Regions from separate parts of the Homo sapiens genome. Here region 2 is linked to region 1. The links are contacts of gene promoters, found by promoter capture Hi-C in human tissues and cell types (Jung and others, 2019). All regions are on one chromosome and are shown on one strand. The core of a region is centred on a gene start or on the middle of the fragment in contact, and the rest is flanking DNA. Distances in the headings are between cores, read along the strand shown.

Region 1 (6,450 bases), core at 1,270-3,769:
TGTCATATGTAGGTAAAAAATCAAACCACAGTAGGCATCAAGTGTACTGAAGCTTCAGTTAGGAGTAAGTGGTTCCAGTTTTGGATTGAGGACCCTAGTCAATGATGATCCTATTTTGTAATCCAGTTGTAAAACATCTGGGGAGCAGAGGGAAAAAAGTTAATGCTATGGAGTTGTCACTCCAACTGAAGAAAAATTATTAATAGGAGGAGCAGAACTTCAGTTCTGGAAAACTTTTTTTTTTTTTTGAGACAGAGTCTTACTCTGTCACCCAGGCTGGAGTGCAACGGTGAGAGGCTCATGGCAAACTCTGCCTCCTGGGTTCAAGCGATTCTCCTGCCTCAGCCTCCCGAGTAGCTGGGATTACAGGCACGCAACTCCACACCCGGCTAATTTTGTATTTTTAGTAGAGAAGGGGCTTCACCATGTTGGCCAGGTTGGTCTCAAACTCCTGACCTCAGGTGATCCACCCGCCTCCACCTCCCAAAGGGCTGGGATTACAGGTGTGAGCCACCGCGCCAGGCCAAGTTCTGTTAAACTTTTAGTAAGGCTGAAGGCTTAGGCATGTTTTGACCATTTGTAACTGATAATAAGACTCATCACAAGGTACCCACAAAATTCACTGCCAGTCACTCTGCTACGTCAAAGCCTCTCCTACTTCAGCACCTACCTAGGCATAATTTTAACTGACATTTTAGCAATAAAACTTTTATTTGAAGATATCCTTGAGCCACAAATCTCTCTGGATTTAGATTTCAAGCAGTAGGAAGTAAGATGGTTTAACCTGCAATTCAATAAAAGAACTTCACATCAAACTTCAATCTTTAAGAAGCTGCTACAGCTATAATGTAAGGTTAAGAGTTTATTCTTTCAAAGCAGGTCTCCTCATCTCTTAAACGCTATACATATGAAGTAGATAAAAACTGGTTTCTTTTTTGGTAGCATTTAGGATCTACAAAAGTGATCCTTCAATTACTTGGAATTTCAAAAAATTGAGGTTACCTAGTAACAATGCACCAGTAGAACACAAAATACTCTGACTTTGTTTAGTCTGTGGGAAAAGAAAAATCTTTAAACTGGAAAGATTTTGTAGTCTTACAAAGATTACATTGGAATTGGAATTACTGTAGTTCGTTTTTCCCTCTAGGAGGGCAGCCATTTCTCTAAAAGTTGTGTAAAAGTTAAGACTAGGATTTCAAAATGCAAGCAGATGTTGATGAAGCATACGAAATGGGCAACTCCGTTTCTATTTCGGAGCCGCAGCGACTCCGACTTTGTGCCCCAACCCTGTAAAGGGCAAAACCTCATCCCTTCGGTGTAAACTTTCAAGAGAAGTGGGGCAGCACACTTTAGGCGTTTCACCAAGAGGCTGGCGACATGCTAGGTCAGGTTGTCCGGAGAATCGGGGCTGAATGGGAGAGATCTTGAGGGCAAGAGCCTCAGAGACCTTCAGGCACCGAGCTCGTGAAGGTTTCCAAGTGCCCCTCTCTAGCTGCTCCCAGGGGGAATTAGTGGTTGCTACAGTAGTTTAAGAGGGTCGTGGTTTTTCGCAACCCGGGCGGCGAGATGGCGCTTTGGTGTAAGCGAGGTAAGGTGGGTGCACTGGGATCTCCGCTCTCGGAGCCTCCAGCTGACTGCCACGCCGACTTGTGGCCAGACCTGCGACCTCCGCCCTCCCCCGCGGCGCCAGCCTCTGGAATCTGGCGTCGCCCCCACCTCTCCAGTCGAAGTGGGAGTCCCTCTGTGCGGGGCCTCGCCGCCATACCCAGGCCGAATGGGGGTGGGGAGGGAAGCTGGCAGAGCTCGGCCTCAGGATCCGCGCCCCTGTGGAAAGACCGCAGAGGGAAGCCGTTTCACCAGCCTCTCCCCTTCTGGGGTCTCGGGAAACACGCGGTAATTACCGAAGAACCCCGCACTCTGTGAGAGGCGAGGCTGCGGGGCTGCCGGGACGGTTTGAGGACCGGGCTCGGCCGAGGAGACTCCAACCTTCACCCTCCCTGGCCCCCGGTCCCACTTCCCGCCGTCTCCCGGCGCCGCCACTTCAGGTAGCCCACTCGGCCCGGCCTCTCCCCGCGCCCGGACCACCCCCCACGGGGTGCTCTCACTGCGCAGCGAGTCCCTCCGCTGCCTCCTCCCAGCCCAAAATGGCGGCGATGGCCGCCGAGCTTCTCGTCGCCTTCCTCAAAGGCCAAGGATCCCTCCGCGCCTGCTGCCCCGCCCACCTTAGCCGGATCTATTTTCTGCCCCGTAAAGATTAACGCCATCAATGAACTCTTTAATTGAGTTCGGAGAAGGCGGGTCCAGTTGTGCCTCCTCACAGCTAATCGTTGCCAAAAAAGCGAGAATATTGGCAGAAGGCTTGACCAATCAAAGAAGGCAGTGATGCGCGCGCGGTCTGCCCCCGCGCAAGGGTAGATGGGTTTTGGAGTCTCGGGTGTGGCTGTTGACGTTACAGGCCCTTGGATCGCTTTTCAGGCCAGAAGAACTACAATCCCCAGCAGGCACCGCGCGTCCAGGCTCTCTCTTCCCCCCCATCTTAGTGGCCTGAGCGGCTTGACCAGAGCTGCTGCAACTGCAGCAAGAGGTAGGGCTCAGGCGTTGGGAATTGCACCGACAGGCAGTCGCACAGAAAGGCACACAGATGTAGTGGTGTGCATAGCCCTTGACAGCGAATAGGTCAGTTCCACCTTTGCAAAACCTCTTTCCATGACTGTCTCCCTTCTTCCAAGAAATCCATCCTTATCCTAGTTGGGTTTCCCTCCCAGCTGCATGTAGTGCAAAGACCTCTTTCCCCTTTTCTCCTGTTTCCCTTTCTGAGAGGAAGGAGGGAGGCAGGCCAGGACCTTAGAGGAAAAGTCCTCAGCACTAGGCTGGCCCAGGTCCCAGCTGTGCTTCTGGCCTTTGGAGCCCAGCTTGGGGAGAAGGTTGGGGGTGCAGGGCTGCATCAAGATTGGGGCCACTGGAGACAGTGGGGAAGGACTCGTGAGCTTGCTCCATGTTCTCCCGTGGCAGCAGCAGCCCCGCTGCACTCCCAGCCTCCCCAGGCAGTCCTCCTTTGCCCCTTTGGTGGTTGGGGAAACAAAACTTACACCTGGCTTCCTGGCTGCCAACCTGGGCCTCGGTGACTTCCAGGAGGACAGTACAGGACATGAGTCCTGGTGAGGGACCCGAGGAGCAGGACAGAGAAGACGGCCCCTGAATCCCATTTGGCCCCTTGCTGGCTGGAGGTGTGAAAACCAGCGGTGGAGGCAGCCTTCGGGGCCTGCATTTGAGAATAAGGGTATGAAGGGCTGGGGTACAAAATGGCTGCCACTGCCTGGGCAAACAATTCTGGGCAGCCAGAGTATTCCTGACGTTCCTTCAGGATTTAGGTTTCTGTTGTTGTTCAAAGCAGGTGTCACTAGTTCCAGGCGTCTGCTGAAAGATTTGGAACAGAAGATGATGGCCACTCCGAACCAGACCGCCTGTAATGCAGAGTCACCAGTGGCCCTGGAGGAGGCCAAGGTAAGTCCCTGCCCTCCTGCCCACCCAAGCACCACGAGCACGGGTCCCACAGCTGAGATCCAAACTTCTTGTCCCAGATGTGTTGGTAGATTTGGAAAACCAGTATTTTGACGAATCAGTACTATGCACTAGGCAATAGGCCGGAATCCCAGTCTATGCTAGCTGATGAAATCTTAGTAACTGGCCGGGTGCGGTGGCTCACACCTGTAATCCCAGCACTTTGGGAGGCCTAGGTGGGTGGATCACCTGAGGTCAGGAGTTCGAGACCAGCCTGACCAACATGGCAAAACCCTGGCTGTACTGAAAATGCAAAATTAGCCTGGCATAGTGGTGGCGCATGCCTGTGATCCCAGCTACTTGGGAGGTTGAGGCAGGAGAATCGCTTGAACCCAGGGGTCGGAGGTTGCAGTGAGCCAAGATCTCGCAATTGCACTCCAGCCTGGGCGTCAGAGCGAGACTCCGTCTCAAAAAAAAAAAAAAAAAAAAAAAATCCTAGTAACCCTTTCAGGTAGGAATTATTTCCAATTCCCAGAAGCTAAGGTTCTGAGACCTGAAATACCTGTTCCAGAATCATGCTATCTACAAGCAACAGACCCAGGGTTTAAACTTAGGGCCTTCTGACAACAGAACATTGCCTTGACCTCAAGTCCAAAGAGGGCATGGAGGGACTGGGTTGAATGTTTACATTTTGTCCAGGCTAAGAACCAAGTCTGAAGCAGGAAGAAGAGTTTTTGGTTCATAATTTGGAATGGACCCAGGCAGGCAATTCACTTGAGACCAGAAGTTCAAGACCAGCCTGGCCAACATGGTGAAACCTCATCTCTACTAAAAATACAAAAATTAGCTGGGCATGGTGGCACATGCCTGTAATACCAGCTACTCAGGAGGCTGATGCACCAGAATCACTTGAACCCAGGATGCAGAGGTTGCAGTGAGCTGAGATCACACCACTGCACTTTAGCCTGGGCGACAGAGTGACACTCCATCTCAAAAAAGAAACAAAAACAAAAACAGGCCAGGCGCAGTGGCTCACGCCTGTAATCCTAGCACTTTTGGAGGCTGAGGTGGGTGGATCACCTGAGGTCAAGAGTTCAAGACCAGCCTGGCCAACATGGTGAAACTCTGTCTCTACTAAAAATACAAAAATTAGATGGGCGTAATGACAGGCGGCTGTAATCCCAGCGACTCAGGAGGCTGAAGCAGGAGAATCACTTGAACCCATGAGGCAGAAGTTGCAGTGAGCTGAGATTGTGCCATTGCACTCCAGCTTGGGCAACAAGAACAAAACTCTCTCAAAAAAAAAAAAATGCTGGAAGCCGGGTGCAGTGGCTCACGCCTGTAATCCCAGCACTTTGGGAGGCCGAGGTGGGCGGATCACCTGAGGTCACGAGTTCGAGACCAGCCTGACCAACATGGAGAAACCCCATCTCTACTAAAAATACAAAATTAGCCAGGCGTGGTGGCACATTTCTATAATCCCAGCTAGTTGGGAGGCTGAGGCAGGAGAATCGCTTGAAACTGGGAGGCGGAGTTTGCAGTGAACTGAGATCACGCCCCTGCACTCCAGCCTGGGCAACAGAGCGAGACTCCGTCTCAAAAAAAAACCAAAAAAACAAAAAAACCTGAAATTAGCCCGGCGTGGTGGTGCATGCCTGTAATCCCAGCTGCTTGGGAGGCTGAGGCATGATAATCACTTGAACCCAGGAGGCAGAGGTTGCACTGAGCTGAGATCATGCCACTGCACTCCAGCCTGGGTGACAAAGTCAGACTTTCTCAAAAATAATAATAATTTGTAATGGAGGTGGGGGTAGGATATAACCCACGAAAGAGGAGAGAGAAAGATCATATCAGGCCCTCAGAGGATGGCACTTCCCAACCTGGCAACAGGAACCCATGCTTGTTCGGCCCATGTTCTCTCAGTACCTGCCCTTACCCATTCTTCCTTAGTCCACGACTCCCTATAGATGAGCAGGGGGCTTAGGACAGAGGTCAGAGAGCTTCTGACCCACCCTGCCTAGCCCATTCCGTGTTTTCTGGATTGACTGAATTCGGAATTCATGACATGTCAGGGCTACAATGTTCAGCCAGGTCACACAGCTTATCTACAGTAGTGGTCATGGTGGTAGAGGGCCAAGTCTTCAGGAGGGAGGCAGCAGGTAGGGCTAGGGGGCTGGGCTCGCTTGGGTGAGGGTGGAGGATCAATAGGGCACTTCTACTGAGGGCTGGGAGCATGTGACTGATTGTGCACACCAACAAGCCACCATGCCTTGGCATCCCAGTGGCCTTGCCTGTCCCAGCTGGGGCAACAGCTCTGTCTTATTTGGCCCAAGCCACTGGTGGAGACAAGGGCTATTGCTTTTATTTCGTGATCTCCCTGCAGGTGAAGTAACACAACAAACTCCACATACGTACACACCCCACACACATACACACCCTGACATACCTCCTTTTCCCTGAAATTCTCTTCGGGGTCTGCAAAACACACATGACATATGCCTGGCTCTTAAGGGCCGCGCATACACCACATTCCTCAGTACACACCCTGTGTGCATGGACCACGCTCACATGTCTCTGAACTGCGTTGCATATTATTCAACAACATACCAGTGGTAGTGGTTATTATTAGAAATTGCCCAAACCACAAACTTAGAGCAATTCATTTCCCATCTCCCACACCCAGTACTCCCACCCTTCCCACAACAGAGATAAACAGATGCCCTGAACATACACTCTCTTGACAGCCTTTATACCTCTTAGATAAGTTCTGGAACTCTCTCACTGCAGACTGGAGGCTGACCCTCCCTCTCTTTGGAGAGGATCTCTTTCCTGCCATTCATATTGGAGAGTGATACCACCTACCAACTTCTGCCTGGAATAAATATGTTCCATCATTTTATTTTATTTTATTTTTTAATTTAATTTAATTTAATTTAATTATTTTATTTT
Region 2 (6,450 bases), core at 1,465-3,964, 1.0 Mb after region 1:
TGGTGAAACCCTGTCTCTACTAAAAATACAAAAATCAGCTGAGTGTGGCGGCGAGCGCCTGTAATCCCAGCTACCTGGGAGGCTGAGACATGAGAATCACCTGAACCCAGGCAGCAGAGGTTGCAATTAGCCAAGATTGCACCACTGCACTCCAGCCGGGGCAACAAGAGCAAGACTCCATCTTAAAAAAAAAAAAAAAAATCCCATCTACTCCAAGACTTCTCTGAAATGATGTCTATGAACTTGACATTAACATATACACTTCAAAGACAATAGTTTATTTGATTTGCACTTTATCCTTGGTCTCAATATCCCCATAGGATACACAGCATAGTGTAGTTACTAAAACAATCATCTAAGTAAGGGGGTGGGGGAGGAGAGAGAGTGCAGAGAACAGGAAAAAGTGACCACTTTTTCCGAAAAAATTCCCATTCCTAATTCCTAAATCTTGAGATTTCTATACCAAAGAAATACCATTTATTGACTTGACATACCTTTATTGACTCGAAATACTATGCTAAGATTCAACATTACTCCCAAAGATATTCATAAGTAAGAGGAGCACTGACTCAAGTGAGCAAATCTCAGTTCCCATCCTGGCTCCACCTCCTGTAGGTTACTTAACTATTCTGTTCTTTAAGTCTCCTCATCTACAAGTAACAGAGCCTTCCCGACAAGGATGCTATGATGATGAAATAAGATACTTTCAATTACTTGGCCACGTACCTGGAGCAACCACCCAGTATTATTTGCACTTTTATTACACTGGAAACAAAAAGGAAACATAGAAGGAATGAATTTCCATGGCTTTTTAATGCACCTAGTTTGCAATTAGCTACAATTGCCATAAACCACCACCTAAGTTTAGTACTTTAATCTTTTCCCTGTTATGTCTAGACTTACTTTTAATATTTCATGATGTTGTTTATAATAAAAAGAAAACTGAATGCCAAAAACTCGGTTAAATTATTAAATATCCATACAATGGAATACTGTGCAACCCTAAGTGTGGCAGAGCTATATTTACTAACATAGAAAAGTGCTTGCTTCATTATTAAATGAAAAAAAGTTACAAAACAAAACACAGTATCATCTCAATTTTGCTTTAAAAAGTCATTGGTTAAGATTCTTTTGTCTTTTGTTTCTTGGCTTATGTAAAGTCTCCACCATAAACATGTATTACTTCTATAATAAAATGGAGAGAAACAAAAAGAAAACAATGGAAATTCTTAAAGAGCCAATAACTAAGTAAAACAAAATCACAGTAACATTCTTTTTTTTTTTTTAAGAGATGGAGTCTCGCTCTGTCACCCAGGCTGGAGAGCAGTGGCGTGATCTAAGCTCACTGCAAGCTCCACCTCCCGGGTTCACGCCATTCTCCTGCCTCAGCCTCCCCAGTAGCTGGAACTACAGGCGTCCGCCACCACGCCCAGCTAGTTTTTTGTATTTTTAGTAGAGACAGGGTTTCACCATGTTAGCCAGGATGGTCTCCATCTCCTGACCTCGTGATCTGCCCACCTTGGCCTCCCAAAGTGCTGGGATTACAGGCATGAGCCACCACGCCCGGCCCATAGTAACATTCTTAAATTTAATATACAGAGCAAAACAATGATTCCTATCCCACTTGACCCCTACAAAATTCAAAAAGCTTCAATCTTTGACAATGTAAAGCAGGGAAAGACTGTCAAATTTAAGCAGTTCTTAGAGAAGCTCAGGGCTAAAGGAAAAAAAAACGAAAAACAAAAAAAGGAAGCAGTTCTACACAAACAGCACAACAGCCTATCTGATAAATCATCTTTCTCCAAAGAATACAAAGCCTTAAAAGCTATAATTAACTGATTAATCCTCATAACAACCTGGGCAGTAGAATTAGGGCTGAGATTATAATTTCTAATTTACCGGTGGGGATAAAGTCAGACTGTACATTCAGAATAAAAATTCAAGCCCCAAATATCCCAATTTTTAGTTCATTCAGTTAGTAAACTATAATCTGACAAATACAGATGGAGCTGCTACACCTGCTGTCACTCACACAAATTGAGATTCTGCAGTAAGCTTGTACAGATAAAAGAAAAGGCTACCTATTCAAGGTCATTTAGCTATAAAAGGTTGGGCTAGATAATCAATAGTTTCTCTCTCAGTTTCAAAGAAGTATTTTAGGGTCTGGAAGATGTTAAATGCACTCAGCAAGCAAATACATTTCGGAAAAACTTCCCAGATGGAGACTCACAACGTATTGCATCATACTGAATATGCAAATGTTTACCTTTACCAAACTTTTTTAACAAGCACCTTTTTCCATTACATCTATTAATATCAAGCAGAAACATCATTGTGAGAAATACAAGTTGGGATAAAGTTCAAATATGTGACCTCTAGGGTCCCTTCCTATGTTAATTCTATTATTCTAAATTGCACCATCGGTCCAAGGACAAACTTCTACCTAACACAAGTGGCACTTGGGAAGCAAAAATATACTTCTAGGATAGAGTTTCTCAACCTAACCACTAACTGACATCTCACGATGAGTAATCTATCACAGGGGGCTATCCTGGCAGTAGCATGTTTAGCAACATCTCTGTTTTCCACCCACTAGATGCTAGTAGTGCCCTTCTGAAAATTATGACAATCAAAAATGTCTCCAGACATGTCAAATATGGGAGCTGGGGGGTTCAACATCACACCTCCCAACAGAGAACCATATCCTAAAGATTATACACACACATATATATACTCTTTCAAAAGCAAAACGTATCCAGCTGCTTCAAATACTGTAAGTCAGAACTAACTCCACACCCACAAATGAAAACCTCATTTATTCCCAGTCAATTTCCAAGACAAGACTCCAGATACACAAGAATAACCTGGAAGCATCCACCTTGCAAAAATATTTAGCTGCAGAGAACAAAGGGGAAGGAATAGGTCATCCAGGTGGCCAACAAGTATTACAACCACACTTGCACTGAAAGCAAAAGCAAAAATCAGATGGGGAAGAAAAGTTTGCCCATAATGTGGCTTCTACTAACCTCTTCCTTCACCATTACCTCATTTCTCTACACAAAGGACGGAAAGAAACAGCAGGAAGGATGATTAGGGAAGTGTCCATGAAGTTGCCGCAATTTTAGCTGAGACTTGAAAATTAGCTAAAATGTCATTATGCAAAAGGCTAGGACAAGAGAATGGTAATGTGGCATTCTAGTGAGAGGAAATGGCATAAGAAAAGGCAACGCTGTGTGGGAAAAGGCGACATTCTGAAGGTTAAAAGAAATGAACAATTTGGGCCGGGCGCAGTGACTCATGCCTATAATCCCAGGACTTTGGGAGGCTGAGGCGGGTAGATCACCTGAGATCAGGAGACCAGCCTGGCCAACATGGCGAAACCCCATCTCTACTAAAATTACCAAAAATTAGCCGGGTGTGGAGGCGCGCACCTGTACTCCCAGCTACTTGGAAGACTGAGACAGGATAATTGCTTGAACCCAGGAGGCAGAGGTTGCAGTGAGCTGAGATCGGGCCACTGCACTCCAGCTTGGGTAACAAGAGCGAGACTCCATCTTAAAAAAAAAAAAAAATTAACAATTTGCTTAAAACACAAAGCATATTTTAATAGAGGAAATAGTAGAATGAAGGTGGAAAGGCAGTTTGAAGCCAGATCCTTAACGGACAGCCTTTAATAGCCTTAATTCAGACTTAAAGACAGTAGAGGGGCCAGGCACAGTGGCTCACGCCTGCAATCCCCGCACTTTGGGAGGCTGAGGCGGGTGGATCACCTGAGGTCAGGAGTTTGAAACCAGCCTGGCCAACGTGGTGAAAACCCGCCTCTAATAAAAATACAAAAAAATCAGCTGGGTGTGGTGGCGGGCACCTGTAATCCCAGCTGCTCGGGAAGCTGTGGTAGGAGAATCGCTGAAACCTGAGCGGCAGAGGTTGCAGTGAGCCGAGATCGCACCATTGCACTCCAGCCTGGGTGACAAAAGTGAGACTCCATCTCAAAAAAAGAAATAAATAATAAAAATAAAAATAAAAAATTTAGCCGGGCATGATGGCAGGTGCCTGTAGTCCCAGCTACTAGGGAGGCTGAGGCATGAGAATCACTTGAACCCAGGAGGCAGAGGCTGCAATGAGCTAAGATTGAGCCACTGCATTTCAGCCAGGGCGACAAAGAGAGGCTCTGTCTCAAAAACAAAAACAAACAAACAAAGACAGCAGAGGCCAGGTGCAGCGGCTCAGACATGTAATCCCAGCACTCTGGGAGGCCAAGGCAAAAGGATTGCTTGAGGCCAGGAGTTTGAGACCAGCCTGGTCAACATAGCGAGATCGAGTCTCTGAAAAATAAAAAGTATATACATATATATATACACACACATATATATGTATATGTATATATAAAATAATGACAGCAGAGTATCATTAAACACTTTTTAAATGGGAGTGAAACATCAGACTGTGCTTTAGAGAGATCAGTTGGGTAGGATGGATTGAAAGTAAGTAAAAAGGCATCTATAGATGGCAAAGACCAATAAAAAAGCTACCACAATAATCCAGATAGGATGCAATGAGAACTTCAACCAGAAAATAATAGTCAAAGTCTCTACCAAAGCTTAAATCCAGAAATGTGAAGGGGCCAGTCTAACAAAAAGGCCAAATATATGACAAACAAAAACATGATGGCTTATAAAGAATGGAAAGAAAGCTCTCTTTTCCTTCATAATTTCATCTCCTTTGTGACGAAATCCTTCTTTTCTCACGAAGCTTTTCAGGTTTGGTATGTCCTCTCTATACTTCTAACACTATCAGTCTAGCCCAGGTCCTCATCAGCTCCTGTCTAGATTATCACAACAGCTTCCTGACTAGTGCCTCAGTGCCCCAAACTATCCTTTACCTTTTTATCATCTCACTTTCCTACTCTGAACAAGTTCCTCACACTTTTTTTTTTTTTGAGACAAAGTCTCGCTCTTGTCCCCCAGGCTGGAGTGCGATGGCGCGATCTCCGCTCACTGCAACCTCCGCCTCCCAGGTTCAAACGATTCTCCTACCACAACCTCCCGAGCAGCTGGGATTACCGGTGCCTGCCACCACAGCCAGCTAATTTTTTTGTAATTTTAGTAGAGATGGGGTTTCACCACGTTGGCCAGGCTGGTTTCGAACTCCTGACCTCAGGTGATCGACCCGCCTCGGCCTCCCAAAGTGCTGGAATTACAGGCATGAGCCACCACACCCAGCCCCTCACACCTTTTTAATGAGTTCAAATTCTTCAAGATGAAACTTAACGTCAGGGCAAGCACATCAATTGATACGGACCCAGAACTCCCCACAGATTCCCAACTCCGTATCTTTGCCTATGTTGCTACCTCTACCTGGAAGGTCCTTCTTCTACTTTTTTTTTTTGTCCCCAAACTTACTAATTTTTCAATACATAGCATCTCCACAAAAACTTCTTAGACTCTTCCAATTCATATCACTTTCTTCCTGCTTGAATTGTATAATGCACTTAAAGTCACTGTCATTCAGTTCAAATTATCTGAATTTTCCCTAATTGTTAACTAATTCTATTTCCAAGACAAGCAAAATTCCTTAACAGCACCCTTCTTTAGCGTGCTAACTTTATCGAGAGCTTGGTACATAGTAAGTGCTGTAAGCCCTAAATGACTGGACTAGAGAAGTCAAAAAGGCCTCGTGGGGGTTGCCCTCAAGTGTAAGATTTTACTAAGAAGAGAAAAAGGAGGAAACACGAATCAAAAAATTGACACAATCAAAATAATGGGAAAGACGTGGGGCATGATCCACAAAACAACTTGCATGAATCAGGTGGTATATGTACAGCTTCTCAAGAGAAAGAGAGGAAAAGAACAGTGATTTGTGATGAAGTACTGCAAGCTACATTATGGAATGCACTGCAAAGTATTTATTTTACATATGAACAAAAGTAGATTTGTTGTGGAATACAATGGGGAAGGAGAGACAAAATTTTTACTATAAAACAAAGAGATAATGTGTGTCACCCACAAGACCATTATCAATTTCCTTGGCCAACAGGGCTTCTTAACTGAAAAAGCTTTATATTACTAAAGGAATCATTCCTGAGTGCAGGATAGGTTATTACAAATGTTGTTCACTAACATTAATTAGCGTTTTACTATGTCAATCACTATGCTAAGTATCTTACATATATTCTCTTAATCTTCACAATAACAATGTAAGGTAAGTACTACTGTCCTCATTTTATAGATGCTCAAAGAAGTTAAGTAATTTGCCCATGATCACACAACTATGAAGTTGCAGGGGCAGGATCCATAATGCTAAAGCCGATGCTTTTAACTACTACACTAGATAGTTTAAGGCTTAAACTGAAACGGTCTTAACTGCCTGACAGTAAATTCTGAATTTTAGTCTTTAGAGGAAAGTCAGTCAAAGAACACCAACTACCTACTGAGTATCTCCAATAAATAT

Evidence for each region. The method cuts DNA at HindIII sites, captures the fragments that hold promoters and counts their contacts. A contact is called where the count stands out against the background at its distance.
Region 2: a fragment that was not itself captured here is called in contact with the fragment with the promoter of HEXIM2 in region 1 in 1 of the 25 tissues and cell types used here (dorsolateral prefrontal cortex).

The regions. Positions count from the first base shown.
Region 1 is chr17:45,159,356-45,165,805 of GRCh38, forward strand. It overlaps HEXIM2 (HEXIM P-TEFb complex subunit 2), which reads left to right and starts at 2,520. Exons shown (of 4, transcript NM_001303441.2): 1 at 2,520-2,676; 2 at 3,133-3,280; 3 at 3,395-3,504. The coding sequence starts at 3,439. HEXIM2-AS1 (HEXIM2 antisense RNA 1) reads right to left here and starts at 2,183. Exons shown (of 3, transcript NR_186789.1): 1 at 2,106-2,183; 2 at 1-137. RefSeq lists enhancers at 1,155-1,770, 1,771-2,386, 2,040-2,269, 2,387-3,002, 2,420-2,619 and 1 more. The HindIII fragment of the contact is 41,438 bases long and covers 1-6,450 here.
Region 2 is chr17:46,176,508-46,182,957 of GRCh38, forward strand. The region is part of intron 1 of KANSL1 (KAT8 regulatory NSL complex subunit 1); the gene reads right to left. Among named protein-coding and RNA genes, the nearest start is that of KANSL1, 14 kb to the right of the region's middle. The HindIII fragment of the contact is 3,924 bases long and covers 753-4,676 here.